Regions from separate parts of the Homo sapiens genome. Here regions 1, 3, 4 and 5 are each linked to region 2. Evidence: promoter capture Hi-C in human tissues and cell types (Jung and others, 2019). All regions are on one chromosome and are shown on one strand. Each heading gives the region's core, a stretch centred on a gene start or on the middle of the fragment in contact. The rest is flanking DNA. Distances are from core to core; before and after follow the strand shown.

What was found. The method cuts DNA at HindIII sites, captures the fragments that hold promoters and counts their contacts. A contact is called where the count stands out against the background at its distance.
Region 1: a fragment that was not itself captured here is called in contact with the fragment with the promoter of ADAMTS17 in region 2 in 1 of the 25 tissues and cell types used here (mesendoderm cells).
Region 3: a fragment that was not itself captured here is called in contact with the fragment with the promoter of ADAMTS17 in region 2 in 3 of the 25 tissues and cell types used here (H1 embryonic stem cells, mesendoderm cells and thymus).
Region 4: a contact is called between a fragment that was not itself captured here and the fragment with the promoter of ADAMTS17 in region 2, in 1 of the 25 tissues and cell types used here (H1 embryonic stem cells).
Region 5: a contact is called between a fragment that was not itself captured here and the fragment with the promoter of ADAMTS17 in region 2, in 2 of the 25 tissues and cell types used here (aorta and spleen).

The regions. Positions count from the first base shown.
Region 1 is chr15:100,099,180-100,101,879 of GRCh38, reverse strand. All of the region lies in intron 14 of ADAMTS17 (ADAM metallopeptidase with thrombospondin type 1 motif 17), which reads left to right. Among named protein-coding and RNA genes, the nearest start is that of ADAMTS17, 240 kb to the left of the region's middle. The HindIII fragment of the contact is 5,776 bases long and covers 1-2,700 here.
Region 2 is chr15:100,340,560-100,343,259 of GRCh38, reverse strand. ADAMTS17 (ADAM metallopeptidase with thrombospondin type 1 motif 17) reads left to right here and starts at 1,285. Exons shown (of 22, transcript NM_139057.4): 1 at 1,285-1,439; 2 at 1,851-2,221. The coding sequence starts at 1,361. RefSeq lists an enhancer at 2,433-2,700. The HindIII fragment of the contact is 7,903 bases long and covers 1-2,700 here.
Region 3 is chr15:100,155,746-100,158,445 of GRCh38, reverse strand. All of the region lies in intron 8 of ADAMTS17 (ADAM metallopeptidase with thrombospondin type 1 motif 17), which reads left to right. Among named protein-coding and RNA genes, the nearest start is that of ADAMTS17, 180 kb to the left of the region's middle. The HindIII fragment of the contact is 5,688 bases long and covers 1-2,700 here.
Region 4 is chr15:100,178,009-100,180,708 of GRCh38, reverse strand. The region is part of intron 8 of ADAMTS17 (ADAM metallopeptidase with thrombospondin type 1 motif 17); the gene reads left to right. Among named protein-coding and RNA genes, the nearest start is that of ADAMTS17, 160 kb to the left of the region's middle. The HindIII fragment of the contact is 4,607 bases long and covers 1-2,700 here.
Region 5 is chr15:100,500,946-100,503,645 of GRCh38, reverse strand. It overlaps CERS3 (ceramide synthase 3), which reads left to right. Exons shown (of 12, transcript NM_001378789.1): 3 at 1,796-1,969. The coding sequence starts at 1,797. Among named protein-coding and RNA genes, the nearest start is that of CERS3, 27 kb to the left of the region's middle. The HindIII fragment of the contact is 5,225 bases long and covers 1-2,700 here.

The DNA.
Region 1 (2,700 bases), core at 66-2,565, 240 kb after region 2:
GAAGTCGGTGGCCTCCCTCCAACCGAAGAGATGGGATGAGGCAGTAGTTGGAAGATAGCTAATAAGTTGAAGAAAGCAAGTACTGCTTATTCCAGCCAGAAAAAACAAGTACCATCAAAACTTGTACGAGGAAGTCCCAATTCAAATATGAGAAAACTAGACTCCCCAGCTTGATAAGAGGTCATCATTTGTATGCTCTTACTGAACACACATGTGCTTAATACCACACCAGCCACTGTGTGTGTCAGAGGATGGGGGAAGGCCAAGAATACAAAGAATTCTCAGACACAGTCCTCTATGTGCTTATGGTCCGTTAGGGAGATGACACATACTCACTTGGAAACCCAACGACCAGAGGCGAAGGCGTGATTTAACAACCAAGAAGAGGTTCCACTTAGACATAGCAGAAAACCCATAGGGTGGAATTTCGTTTATTCCTGCATCAGGTATTTGTTGATCACATTCCGAGTGCTGCACACTGTATTGTGTGCTGGGCTTTCATTAGGGAGCAGGACCAAGAGGATCCCTGTCCCTGTCCAACATACAGACAGGCCATGTCAGCTCACAAACGTGATCATTCCAGAGATTGGTATGTGTGAAGAAGAAAATGGTGCCATAGAGAGACCCAGCGGGGGACTGTGGCTGAGGAGGACAGTGAGCAGGTGGCATGGCATTTCTCTTAGAGGAGACAGCCTTTGAGGAAGAGCCAGCCTGGCAGAGAGTTGGGGGCAGAGAGCTCCAGGCAGAGGGAAGCAAGAGGGAGATGGGTGCATTCCAGCAACAGACGAGGGCGGAGGCTGGCACAAAGGAGCCAGGGCCCAGGCAGAATTGATGCAGAGGAGTGAAGCGATCTTAGCTATGGATAACTGACTCAAGTAGATCCCAGGAAACAAGTTAAGAGGCTATTCTGGTTGCCCACCTGGCTGAGGGGTCATTCCGGGGGAGGGCTTACAAGAGTGGGCTGGAGGGGGTTGGATTCACTGTGCATCTGGAGTGGGGGAGGAAGGCAGGCTGAGTTGGTGAGCAGCTGGAATGAGATCATGGAGGGTCTTAAATTCATATGTGCGGACGTTTCTGATAGGCAGTGGGGATCTTTGGCCACAGATCTTATCTCTCTTTTTGTGTGGAGATTAGTCTGGCAGCAGGCAGGAGAAAAATGCTCCCATAGTTCATGTCCTGATTAAGGAGGGTGTAAACTAGGGAGTGGAGCTGAACATGGAGGAGAAGTAGGCAACAGAGGTTTTCAGGGCACAAAAAACCCAAGCTCACCAACTAACTGGGTACATCCCAAAATAGAAGAGTCAGAAATGGCTTGGAGGTTTCAGGCTAGGATGCCTGTCTGTCAGTTCCAAGACAGTGGCAGGGGGTGTCCAACTAGAATTAAGAGGTCAGGCAGCTTTGGAGGAGAAGCTGTCGCATTGAAAGTGGAGAGATTGCTCAGCAGACTCTTAGTAGTGAGAGCCAGGGTGGAGTGAGGGGAGAAGTGGGCTTAAGAGCTCTTTGCATGAGGATGATGGCTGAAATAAGGAGAAGGCGAAATTACCAAGAAAATGAAAAATCGGAAAAAGCAGGGAGCCCCGGGGGAGCTACCCACTTTCACGGAGTCGAAGAAGCAAGAGGAGGGAGGAGTCATCCAGGGGCTGGGAGGAGAATCAGACAGGAGCCATCCTTGGCTTCCAGGGCATCTTTAGCACACACTCTGGGGTGTCTGCTTGTTTCCGCACTGGCGTCTCCCTCCATCTTACATGTCTTTATTTCCAGGTTAGGCACATAACAGGCACCACGGGTGAATCAATACATGCACAACAGAGACAGGGTGGGCGTTACACACAGCGGACGCTGTAGAGCAGGAGGTGAAAGATGAGGCTGGAGACACGTCCACTAGGTGTGATGACCAGGAGGCTGTTGTCCCTGGTTATCTTCAACAGGGGCAAAGTTCCAGGGTGGAATCCAGGACTCAGACAGCTAAAGATGGACATTTGCCACTGTCCACGGCCCATCCTGTGCCCTCCTCAGCACACGGATCTGAGCACTAAAGCTTTTCCAAGCACTTTCTGCATGTTTCTCAGGAGCTGTCTTGACCAATGAAGAACTTGTGCTTTTCCCCCCGTTCCATCCCATCTCATACCATCTCATACCATCCCATGCCTTTAATTATGCCGTGGGACATTGTTCCTTGGTCCTTTGGTGTCACATACACCCTGACTTAGCCAGAGGCACAGGGCGCGACCAGCAAATGCTGGCCAGGAACTTGAAGCCCTGCTTTGAAAGCTGAGAAATGGGTGATGAAGATTCCTAGGAAAGTAACTAAGGATCACCAGGATAACATGGGAAGACTTGAGAGAGTTTATTGCCTGGAGTTTCCTCAGGCTTGGTCATCTTGTTCTCTTGGAACACCAAGCCTCATAAATACAATCATCAAAGCTCCCCTAATATTCAGAATTAATGACTTCAGTTGTGTCCTATGGCAGCTTCCATTTGAAAACCATCCCAGTTTCTGCCAAGATTATAAGTTGCTTGCGCTGACTGAAACAATGGAAGAAAATGCCCCCGTTCGCAGATTTTGTGGCTGTCACCCGTCAGCATTTAGAGTCACTGCTGTTCAGACATGGACAGCCCTGCATTCCCTGTCTCCAGATGCAGACAGCCTCTAAAATAACACCAAGTAGAGTGGGCAGAACCCATGGACCTGTCCCAGCC
Region 2 (2,700 bases), core at 36-2,535:
CTTTCTGCTATGATAAAATGGAAAAGAGCAGGACAGGGAAGGGACGGGAAACCTGAGATTGGTTATGGTTACACTTAATTGTTTTTTTTGTTTTGTTTGGTTTTGTTTTGTTTTTTTGAGATGGAGTCTTGCTCTGTTGCCCAGGCTGGAGTGCAGTGGCACAATCTCGGCTCACTGCAACCTCCACCCCCCGGGTTCAAGCGATTCTTCTGCCTTAGCCTCCCGAGTAGCTGGGACTACAGGTGTGCGCCATCACGCCTGGCTAATTTTTGTATTTTTAGTAGAGACAGGGTTTCACCATATTGGCCAGGCTAGTCTGGAACCCCTGACTTCGTGACCCGCCCGCCTTGGCCTCCCAAAGTGCTGGGATTACAGGCATGAGCCTCTACAAGATGCTATTCAGCAAGCTAATGGAGTCACCTTCCCTGCAGACCTCAGTTATATTGTGGCAGGAAAGGATCAACTCATTCTGTTTCTGGGAGACTCACGTTCAAGGCTAGGCTTTGGGACTTTGTGCCTCCGTTTCCTAACCTGTAACACTGAGTCCTGCTTCCCTCGGGGCGGGGGGATCCTGCTGTTAATAAGAAGCACCAAGCCAGAAATCAGGATCACAAATTCTAGCCTCTGCTCCAACAGGAACTCTCTGGGTAACTTCAGCGTTTTTCCTTAAGCTCTCTCTCTTCCTCAGTTTTTCAGTCTGTAAGAGGGTGTGAGCATGCGTGTTGCACTGGCTCCTGTGGGATTAAAGAAGACAGGAGGTGTGAAGAGTTTGGATAAACGCCGCGGATATAGCCTTCAGGTGCTAACTCAGGTGTGCGGGAAAGTGGACTGGGAGTCTTTGCGGCCACAAACAACTAAAACCTAACTTCAGATGTAAAGATTATATGCAGTTTTGGATGAAACCGCTTGGCCGGGGCGATTTCCGCCCTACCTTCCCGGGAAACTGGGCAGCAGGCTGAGAGAGTTCCAAAATGAGGACAAGCTCTGAAGACCAGCCCCGCATCCTCCAGCTCTTCCAGGGTCCCACGGCTCCGGTCGGCTCCCGCGCGCCACCTGGTGCCGTGTCCCCGCCACTGCCCAGAAACCACGTGTAAGAAAGCGCTGACAACCTAACTACGCACTGTGGTTTCGACCCATCCCAACCAGTAGGGAAGGAGGAGGCGGGGCGGAGGAAAGCGAGGGCCCAATCCCCTCCCGCCTTCCGAGGGGAAGGCGGGGCTTGGGGTTTACCACGTTGGGTTTGTCCGCAGCGCTAATTACTTTTTCCAAAGGCTGGAGGGCTTCACTCCGGCTGGCGCCGCCGCCTAGCGCGCTCCTGCTTCGCCGCCACGGTCCGGGGGGGCTGCCGGTCCCGGGTACCATGTGTGACGGCGCCCTGCTGCCTCCGCTCGTCCTGCCCGTGCTGCTGCTGCTGGTTTGGGGACTGGACCCGGGCACAGGTAGCGCCCCCTCCCACAGCCCTCTTCACCCCGCGTCCTGCGGCTACCTTCCCTCTGCGTTCTCGCGGCGTCCTGGCGGCCCGGGGGCGGCGGCGGGACCGCTGACGGCGCCCGAGCGGAGGAGGCGCGGGCCGCGGCCGGAGTACGGGAATCGGGTGGCTCCGTGGCAGGCGCGCCGCCGCCGGGTCTCCGCTCGCCGATGCGCGGCGCCGTTCCGGGAGGTGCTCGCGCGGCTGCGCCGGAGACCCTCCCCGGGTGGCGCGGGCCAGCGTGGAGGTGCCGGGCGAGGGAAGGGAAGGCAGCGCCGGCTCCGGGTCGCGCTGTCCCCGCGCTGGCGCGGCTGGCGGCCAGCGGGAGGGCGGGCGTCCGGGCGGGCCCCGCCGCGCTGACGCGTCTCCTCTCTCCCCGCAGCTGTCGGCGACGCGGCGGCCGACGTGGAGGTGGTGCTCCCGTGGCGGGTGCGCCCCGACGACGTGCACCTGCCGCCGCTGCCCGCAGCCCCCGGGCCCCGACGGCGGCGACGCCCCCGCACGCCCCCAGCCGCCCCGCGCGCCCGGCCCGGAGAGCGCGCCCTGCTGCTGCACCTGCCGGCCTTCGGGCGCGACCTGTACCTTCAGCTGCGCCGCGACCTGCGCTTCCTGTCCCGAGGCTTCGAGGTGGAGGAGGCGGGCGCGGCCCGGCGCCGCGGCCGCCCCGCCGAGCTGTGCTTCTACTCGGGCCGTGTGCTCGGCCACCCCGGCTCCCTCGTCTCGCTCAGCGCCTGCGGCGCCGCCGGCGGCCTGGTACTGCCCGCGCCACCTCCGGGTCGGCCCGTCCGGTCTGTTGCGACGCAGAGTGGTCGCCGTGGAGGGTGGGGGTGGGGCGCCTCTGCTGGAAGTCCAGCCTCCAGGGGAACCGGAGGGAACCCCCTGCCTTTCCACCTCTCCCCATCCCCCACCCCGGCCTTCGGTACCCTCTATAGGCAAAGGGGGTGGGAGGGGCAGCATCCCAGTCCAGCGCCTCTGCAGCCCGTGGAACCCGCGCGGAGCTGGGGTTGCGTGGGGTATACGCCGCCCGCTCTAGGGAGCGCAGATCTGGCAGGGATGAAACTGTCAGGGCCCTGGACAGAGGCGCCTTGGCCCCAATGTAGAGAACACTGCATCTGCACCGCCGTGTCAAAGTGTATGTCACGGGAGTACCTGTGTACGTGTAGGTGTTATGTTCTTGGACTTGGAGGTGGGGGAGTGGGCATTCACCTCCCTTCCTTTTGAGTCTTCTCTCT
Region 3 (2,700 bases), core at 144-2,643, 180 kb after region 2:
TGAAATACAGTTAAAGAAAATGAACCTCAAAAAAAGAATTCATACTGAGAGTGAAAGTAAAAAGAATTTTTTTGGTGCCAAGGATGAATATATTTTTAAAATCTTTTTTATTTGTAACAGGATTTTTTTAAAGCTGAATGGAGATTGCTTTCTCATGCACTTGTGTATAAGTAAACATTTTCTGTTGCTCACCCAAAAGTAAAGTAAAAAGCTGAGTAATTGCATTGAAAAAATAGAACTCACTTTATTCAACAAAGTGACCATTAAGCAGTGGCTGACGCCTGTAATCCCAGCACTTTGGGAGGCCGAGGCGGGCGGATCACAAGGTCAAGAGGTTGAGACCATCCTGGCCAACATGGTGAAACCCTGTCTCTACTAAAAATACAAAAATTAGCCAGGCGTGCTGGCGCGTGCCTCTAGTCCCAGCTATTCGGGAGGCTGAGGCAGGAGAATAGCTTGAACGCGGGAGGCAGAGGTTGCAGTGATCCGAGATTCTGCCACTGCACTCCAGCCTGGGTGACTGAGCAAGACTCCATCTCAGGAAAAAAAAAAAAAAAGAATATAGCTAAACTGTTCTCACTGGCCATATTTGTCTGATAATTTCTTCAGTCTTCCTTTAACCCTAATTGGATAGATACCTGACACTGAGGCATGAGGACGAGACTGAATCTAACGAGAGGTGACTTTTGCCATTCTGCCAAGCAGTCTGCCACCACGCCAGATCAACACACTTGTCATGGATATGAGTTGTCCGGTATTTTTTTGGCACTTTCTTTGCTATTAAACAGATAATTCGTTCAATAAATATTTTTACCAAATGCTCGCTTTGCACCAGTTTCTGCTGCCCTGAGAAAATAGGGTGAGTTGGAAGAGCCTGTGGGCCTCCAGTCAGGAGGGTCTGAGGTTGATAGCAGTCCAGACCACGCGAAAATATGGCCATCTATACCTAGGTGGCGATGCAGACACTCCCTTTTCAGAAATGACTCTAGTTGGTCACTTGAGCAATTAAGCAAAAAATTGATTCAAGTGGAGAAATAACAAGACATTATATGTAAGTGCCTTAGACATTTTGTTTTAACTTAAGCTATAAAAACATTAGTTTTTTTCAACAATTTTGTAATGGAGAGGGAAAGCCTCTTCTTTGAGGACGGGTGTCTGCCAATTGGACTTCCATGTCACCTTCTGATATGGTTTGGCTGTGTCCCCACCCAAATCTCATTTTGAATTGTAATCCAATGTGTCGAGGGAGGGACCCGCTGGGAGGTGATTGGATCATGAGGGTGGTTTCCTCTGTCCTGTTCTTGTGACAGTGAGAGAGTTCTCACAAGATCTGATGGGTTTGTAAGCATCTGGCATTTTCCTTGCTTGTGCTTCTCTCCCCTGCCACCATTTGAAGTAGGTCTTTGCTTCCCCTTCACCTTCTGCCATGATTGTAAGTTTCCTGAGGTCTCCCTGGCAGAACTGTGAGTCAGTTAAACCTCTTTCCTTTAAAAATTGCCCAGTTTCAAGTGTGAAACACTTTATAGCAGTGTGAAAATGGACTAATACACTTTCCTCACACAAAGCATGCCTATAATAAGAGTTTGAATCTAGTTTCTTTTATATGTGCATGTGTGTGTGTGTGTTTGTATACACATAAAAAGGATTGTAAAAGACTTGTGAAGCAGCCTTGGAGCAGATTTTTATGATTTATTCATCTTTCACAGTTGTCTTGCCCACACCCAGTTGGACAGCAGTCTATCTTAGCTACTGGCTAAATCTGTTTTCATGAGAACAACAACTTGGTGTTTGTCCCCATATTTCGTTGGTTAACCCAACATGTAGCCACATGTATGAATTGAAATAACAAGTGTCACTGACATCAGTAGGTTTAAGAATAAATACAATGGAAGATTGGTAAGGATGCCCCCCCTCCACTGACGGGGGAAGTCACATGTGGGTGATCAGAGAGGGCCCCGCTAGCCCAAAGTTCCAGAACACATGAGCGCCAGGCAGCGGATCCTCCAAAGGACATGGGTGACTTTAGCTGATCCAACTCCACGTGGGAGTTGGCCAAGGGAGCATCTCTGTAGGCAAAAGGGTGTGGGGGTGGCCTGCAGGCATGCAGAGAAGACAGGATGGGTTTCTTTTGGGGAGACACCACCATTAGGCAACAAGCAGGGTTGCTGACGGAAGATGGTCAGATATCTATGAGCAAACTAGGAAAACATGGCTCTAGAGCAGAGTTTAGAAACCTCTTTTATCATTATCTGTGTCAGTGTTCATCTCTTCTCCCAAGCTGGCAGTGATTTGAGGTCTTTTCCTTGTGGTCCGTTACCTGGCACTTGGAAAGTGTCTAATATTTTTGAATGAATGAAAGTACATGTTCTTTTTTGTTGTCGTTGTTCCACTGAGATTGTTGAAAGATGGTCATCCTTATACACGTTGGGGCATAAGAACTCTGGGTCAGCAAACTGGGCAACTGGATCTTGCGTGCTGCATGTCTTGGCTCACCCCAGTGAGGGCAAGTGTATAAGCTAAGATCACTGTTCAGCTCACAGTGTGATGAGCCCTCCAGGCCTAGACAGGCATCCTGGTATGTCTCAGGTATAGCTGAATAGGGAAGGTGACAGGTGTGATCTTGTTAGATGTGAAAGATAGAAAAGCCATACTCTGTAATGAGTTGGAAGGCTTAGATTCAGATCATTCTGTAAGTCAAGG
Region 4 (2,700 bases), core at 102-2,601, 160 kb after region 2:
TAAAACACTGATGCAAGCTATTGAAGGGGACTCAAAAAAAATGGAAAGATATTCAGCGTTCATGAATTGTAAGAATAAATACTGTTAAAACATCCATACTACCCAAAGCAATCTACAGATTCAGTGCAATCCCTATCAAAATATCAATGACATTCTTCACAGAGATAGAAAAAAAATCCTAAAATTTATATGGAACCATAAAAGACCCAAAATAGCAAAAGCTATCCTGAGCAAAAAGAACGAAACTGGAGGAATCACATTACCTGACTTCAGATTATACTGTAGAGCTATAGTAACCAAAATGGCATGGGTATTGGCATTTAAAACAGATACACAGAGCAATGGAACAGAATGGAGAACCCAGAAACAAATTCATACATCTACAGTGAACTCATTTTTGACGAAGGTGCCAAGAACATACGTTGGGGAAAGGACAGTCTCCTCAATAAGTGGGGCTGGGAAAACTAGATATCCATATGCAGAAAACTGAAACTAGATCCCTTTCTCTTGCGATGTACAAAAACCAAAATAGATTAAAGACTTAAATCTAAGACCTCAAACTATGAAACTGATAAAACAGTGGGGAGACACTCCAGGACAGTGGTCTGGGCAAAGATTTCTTGAGTGATACCCCACAGGAACAGGCAGCCAAAGGAAAATTGGACAAATGGGATCACATCAAGTTAAGAAGCTTCTGCACAACAAAGAAAACAACCAGCAAAGTGAAGAGACACCCCACAGAATGGGAGAAAATATTTACAAACTACCCATCTGACAAGAGATTAATAACCAGAATACATAAGGAGCTCAAACAACTCTTAGGAAAAAATCTTATAATCTGATTTAAAAACGCGCAAAAGATCTGAATAGACATTTTTCAAAAGAAGACATACAAATGAAAAAGTGTTCATCATTGATCATCAGAGAAATGCAGATCAAAACTACCATGAGATATCATCTCACCCCAGTTATAAAGGCTTTTATCCAAAAGACAGGCAATAACAAATGCTGGCAAGGTTGTGGAAAAAAGGCAACCCTCATACACTGGTGGGAATGTAAATTAGTACCACCACTATGGAGAACAGTTTGGAGGTTCCTCAATAAACTAAAAATAGAACTATTTTTGTGATCCAGCAATCTCTCTGCTAGGTATATACCCAAAAGAAAGGAAGTCAGTATATCAAAGAGATATCTGCACTCGCATGTTTATTGTAGCACTAGTCACAATAGCCAAGATTTGGAAGCAACCAAAGTGTTCATCAACAGAGGAATGGATTAAAAAAATATGGTACTTACCACAATGGAGTAGAAAGAATGAGATCCTGTCACTTGCAACAACGTGGATGGAACTGGAGGTCATAATAAGCCAGGCACAGAAATACGAACTTCACATGTTCTACTTATTTGTTGGAGCTAAAAATTAAAACAATTGAACTCATAGAGAGTAGAATGATGGTTACCAGAGGCTAAGACGGGTAATAGGAGGCTGGCAGGGAAGTGAAGATAGTTAATGGGTACAAAAACTAGTTAGAAGGAATGAATAAGACCTAGTATTTGGTTCCACAACAGGGCTATAGTTATAATTTAAATGTACATTTTTAAATAACTAAAAAAGTATACTTGGATTGTTGGAGATGATGATACCCCGTTTGCCCTGATATAATTATTAGACATTGTATGTCTGTATCAAAATATCTCATGCACCCCATAAATACATACAGCTACTATGTACCCACAGAAATTAGGAAAAAAAAATTGGGAACAATGTATTGCCTCTAAAGGAACAGCAATTTGGATGACGATAGGTTTCTCATCTGAAATCATAGAGGCCAGAATGAAGTGGCACAAAATTTTTTTTAAGTGTTGAAATAATTCTCAATTTTCAATCCTATATCAAATAAAACTATCCTTCAGGAATGAAGAAAAAATACATTCTCAGAAAAAGGAAATCTAATAGAATTTGTTGCTAGTAAACGGACCCTTAAAGAATGGCTGAAATAAGCTCTCCAAAGAAAATGGTAGGAGAAGAATATGGATCCTTCAAAACAGAATGGGTAAAAGAACAACAGAACAATAGTAAAAAACAACAGAATGGGTAAAAGAACAACAGAACAATAGTAAAAGAACAACAGAATGGGTAAAAGTACAACTACATATTATAGAGTATTCTTAACTTCGTAAACTTTTTAAGTCATATTCTAGCTTTGAAGCATAAGTTATAACATTTCATGTATGTAGACAGAACACTTAAGGCAGTGCATTATGGGGAGGGTATGAGGATCTAAATAAATGTCACATTTCTCTGCTTAACTCAGAGTGGTGAAATGTCAACACCAGTTGGCTGTGATGTGTGTATATGGCAATACCTAGAAGAACCACTAAGAGAACTATACAGAGTGATATTTTTAAAATCATGAATAAATCAAAATCAAACTCTAATTGATGTTCAAGTAACCCACAGGATGTCTAGAAAAAAGAAACAAAAGAAACAAAACAAATAATAAAATGGCACACTTAATCCCTAACATGTCAGTAATTGCTTTCAATGATCTAAAAAAATACTTCAGCTAAAAGACAAACACTGGCAGAATGGATTTAAAAATGTGACCTAACTATCTGCTCCCTGAAAGAAACTCATTTCAAACATAATGACATAGGTAGATTGAATGTAAAATTTTAAAAATTGAAAAAATACATCAT
Region 5 (2,700 bases), core at 78-2,577, 160 kb before region 2:
TTTTGGGCTTGGTAGAGCTGTGTCTGCCTAGAGAGAATACCTTCCTCTAATCAGCACAAAGACACCCTATGGGCTCACAGAGGAGCTGGCTACCAAATTGACCTTTCTAAAATAGCTGACCATCTCATTCCTCTTCATAATACCCTTCAGTGGGTCCTATCAGCTAAATGCCAAACTCCTTAGCATGGAATGCAAGCAAACGCTCTAAGGCCTAGCCTGCTTGTCCCACCAGCATTTTAATGAGGGTGATCATATGATTTATTGTCCAAAGTATTCCTTTCAGAATACTTCTGAAAGGAAGGAAGAGCTGTTACTGATTATGCCAGGGCAATCCACTGCAGTGCCTGGGCACTTATTTGTAACCTACCATTCCACACCTTGGATTCATTCACTGTGGTAGTACCAACCCACTGGTAGTTTTCTATGTGCGCCTTGTTATTTCCCGATTAAGAGGTTTTGACAGAGTGATTTTGACAACCTTGTTGTGAATCTGAGGACATTTTGATTCCTTTTTCTGATTAAACATTAAAAGATGAAATTCATGCATCCTCAAGTCAAAATCCCAAGTCCAAAATGATCACAGCCTAAACAATGATATTAAAACATCTAATTTACATTATTCTATGCTCTGGTTACTTGATTGTAGTCTGAATACTTTGTCTGCTTAGAACTTGTATTCCTTCTTCCCCATTTTCCTGCCTTTCCTGGCTTATGTCCACTTATTGTTCAAGATATCTCAAGGACTTTTTCTTCCAGTTACCTTTCCCTGATATTTCCTGGTTGGGCTCAGTGCCCATCATCTTGTTCCCACAGCAACCTGTATACGTTTTTTAGCATACCTAAAAAAAAAAATGTGTTGAAGTCATGAGTTCAGGCCTGCCTTGCTTACGAGACTATTATGTCCTCAAGGCAGGAAGCCTGTCTTATTAATTGTTTTATCCTCAGTGCTCAGCACGGCTCTTCACAAATAACAGAATCTTAATAAATATTCCTTTACATAGACTAATTTGATCTCCTTGTAATATGAAGTGAAACGTGCCTGCCCCTTATTTCCTGGGGAATTTTTTAGGGTACTAGTGATGATTTGTACCTACCTGGAGCCTTCAGGACATTGACTTTTGGCATGTTAAAGTTGTAAAGCCTATTGTTATTTTTTTATACCATAGAATCATACACAAAGAAAATACACGTGCATAATATTCACATATGTTTTGCCAAAAGTGTGAATAGTGATGTGTTAAACTTGAGTTTTTCCATAAACAAAATTGTCCTGAGGGTATGGAAGAGTAATTCCTGTTTAATGCAATGAAGGATCATATAATCCATTAAATAATAGTATTCCATTCTTGCCTTATTTTCTTTCTTTCTTTCTTTCTTTTTTTTTTTTTTTTTTTCTTTTTTTGAGGTGGAGTCTTGCTCTGTCGCCAGGCTGGAGTACAGTGGCGTGATCTTGGCTCACTGCAAACTCCGCCTCCTGGGATCAAGCTATTCTCCTGCCACAGCCTCCCAAGTTGCTGGGACTACAGGTGTGCACCACCACACCTGACCAATTTTTGTATTTTTAGTAGAGATGGGATTTCACCATGTTGGCCAGGATGGACTTGATCTCTTGACCTCATGATCCGCCCGCCTTGGTCTCCCAAAGTGCTGATATTGCAGGTGTGAGCCACTGCGCTAGGCCTCTTGCCTTATTTTCTAAGCTCTCTGGATCTGGCATTTTGAGCCAAGGTGATCAATGTTATCCTAAAGTTACGTGTTTGTTTTACAAGCCTAATGTCTGTTTCCATTTCTCTAGAATGTTTTGGACGTTTAAAGAATGGTTCTGGTTGGAAAGATTCTGGCTTCCTCCAACAATAAAGTGGTCAGATCTTGAGGATCACGATGGACTCGTCTTTGTAAAACCTTCTCATTTATACGTGACAATTCCATATGCTTTTCTCTTGCTGATTATCAGACGTGTATTTGAAAAGTAAGTAGTACTTGTGTCTTTCCTTCCCATTCCCCCTCTTTGCTCTAACACTAGAATAATACAGTCTTAGGCTTAGTGAGATCCTTAAAGAATCTGTTGTTCAGAGGTTGCCACTAATGGGCCACAGATTCTGGGGATGAGTTAATGTAATCAGATGCGCTCCAAATGTTATTTAAAGGCTGAACAACAAAAAATTAGAAACATGGATCCCACTGAGTGCTTTAGTTTTATAACGAAGAAAATCAAGATCAAGAGAGGTTGCGGACCACAGAGCTTATTGGTATCAATGACAATACGGGAACCCAGTTCATCTACTCTTCCACGGTGTCTGACAATGCATGTGCATTCCCAGAAAGGCTGTGCTAGAAGAGTCTATGACTCAGGAAGCATTAGCATCCTCAAGTGCCTATAAAATAACAAAAATGGCTCATTAAAGTCTAAACCAAATATTGCTATATAGTATAGCTTATTTTAAAGGTTTATTTAAAGGTTTAATAGCTGCCCTTCGTTCTAAAGTGCAAGGAAATCAAAGAGAAAAACTATCAGTTTGCTTTCTCAGAAAAAGTAAACTTATTTTTTTCTTGATTTAATTTAAATGGATATTATTTCCAGCCTTTTTATTAAAATTGTACTAGTGTTATGATAACAGTAGATAAATGTTCATCTATAATCTCTGTTGTTGACTCTATTTCAAAAAGCTGTTATTAGCACATTAATTTATTTGGAGCAAA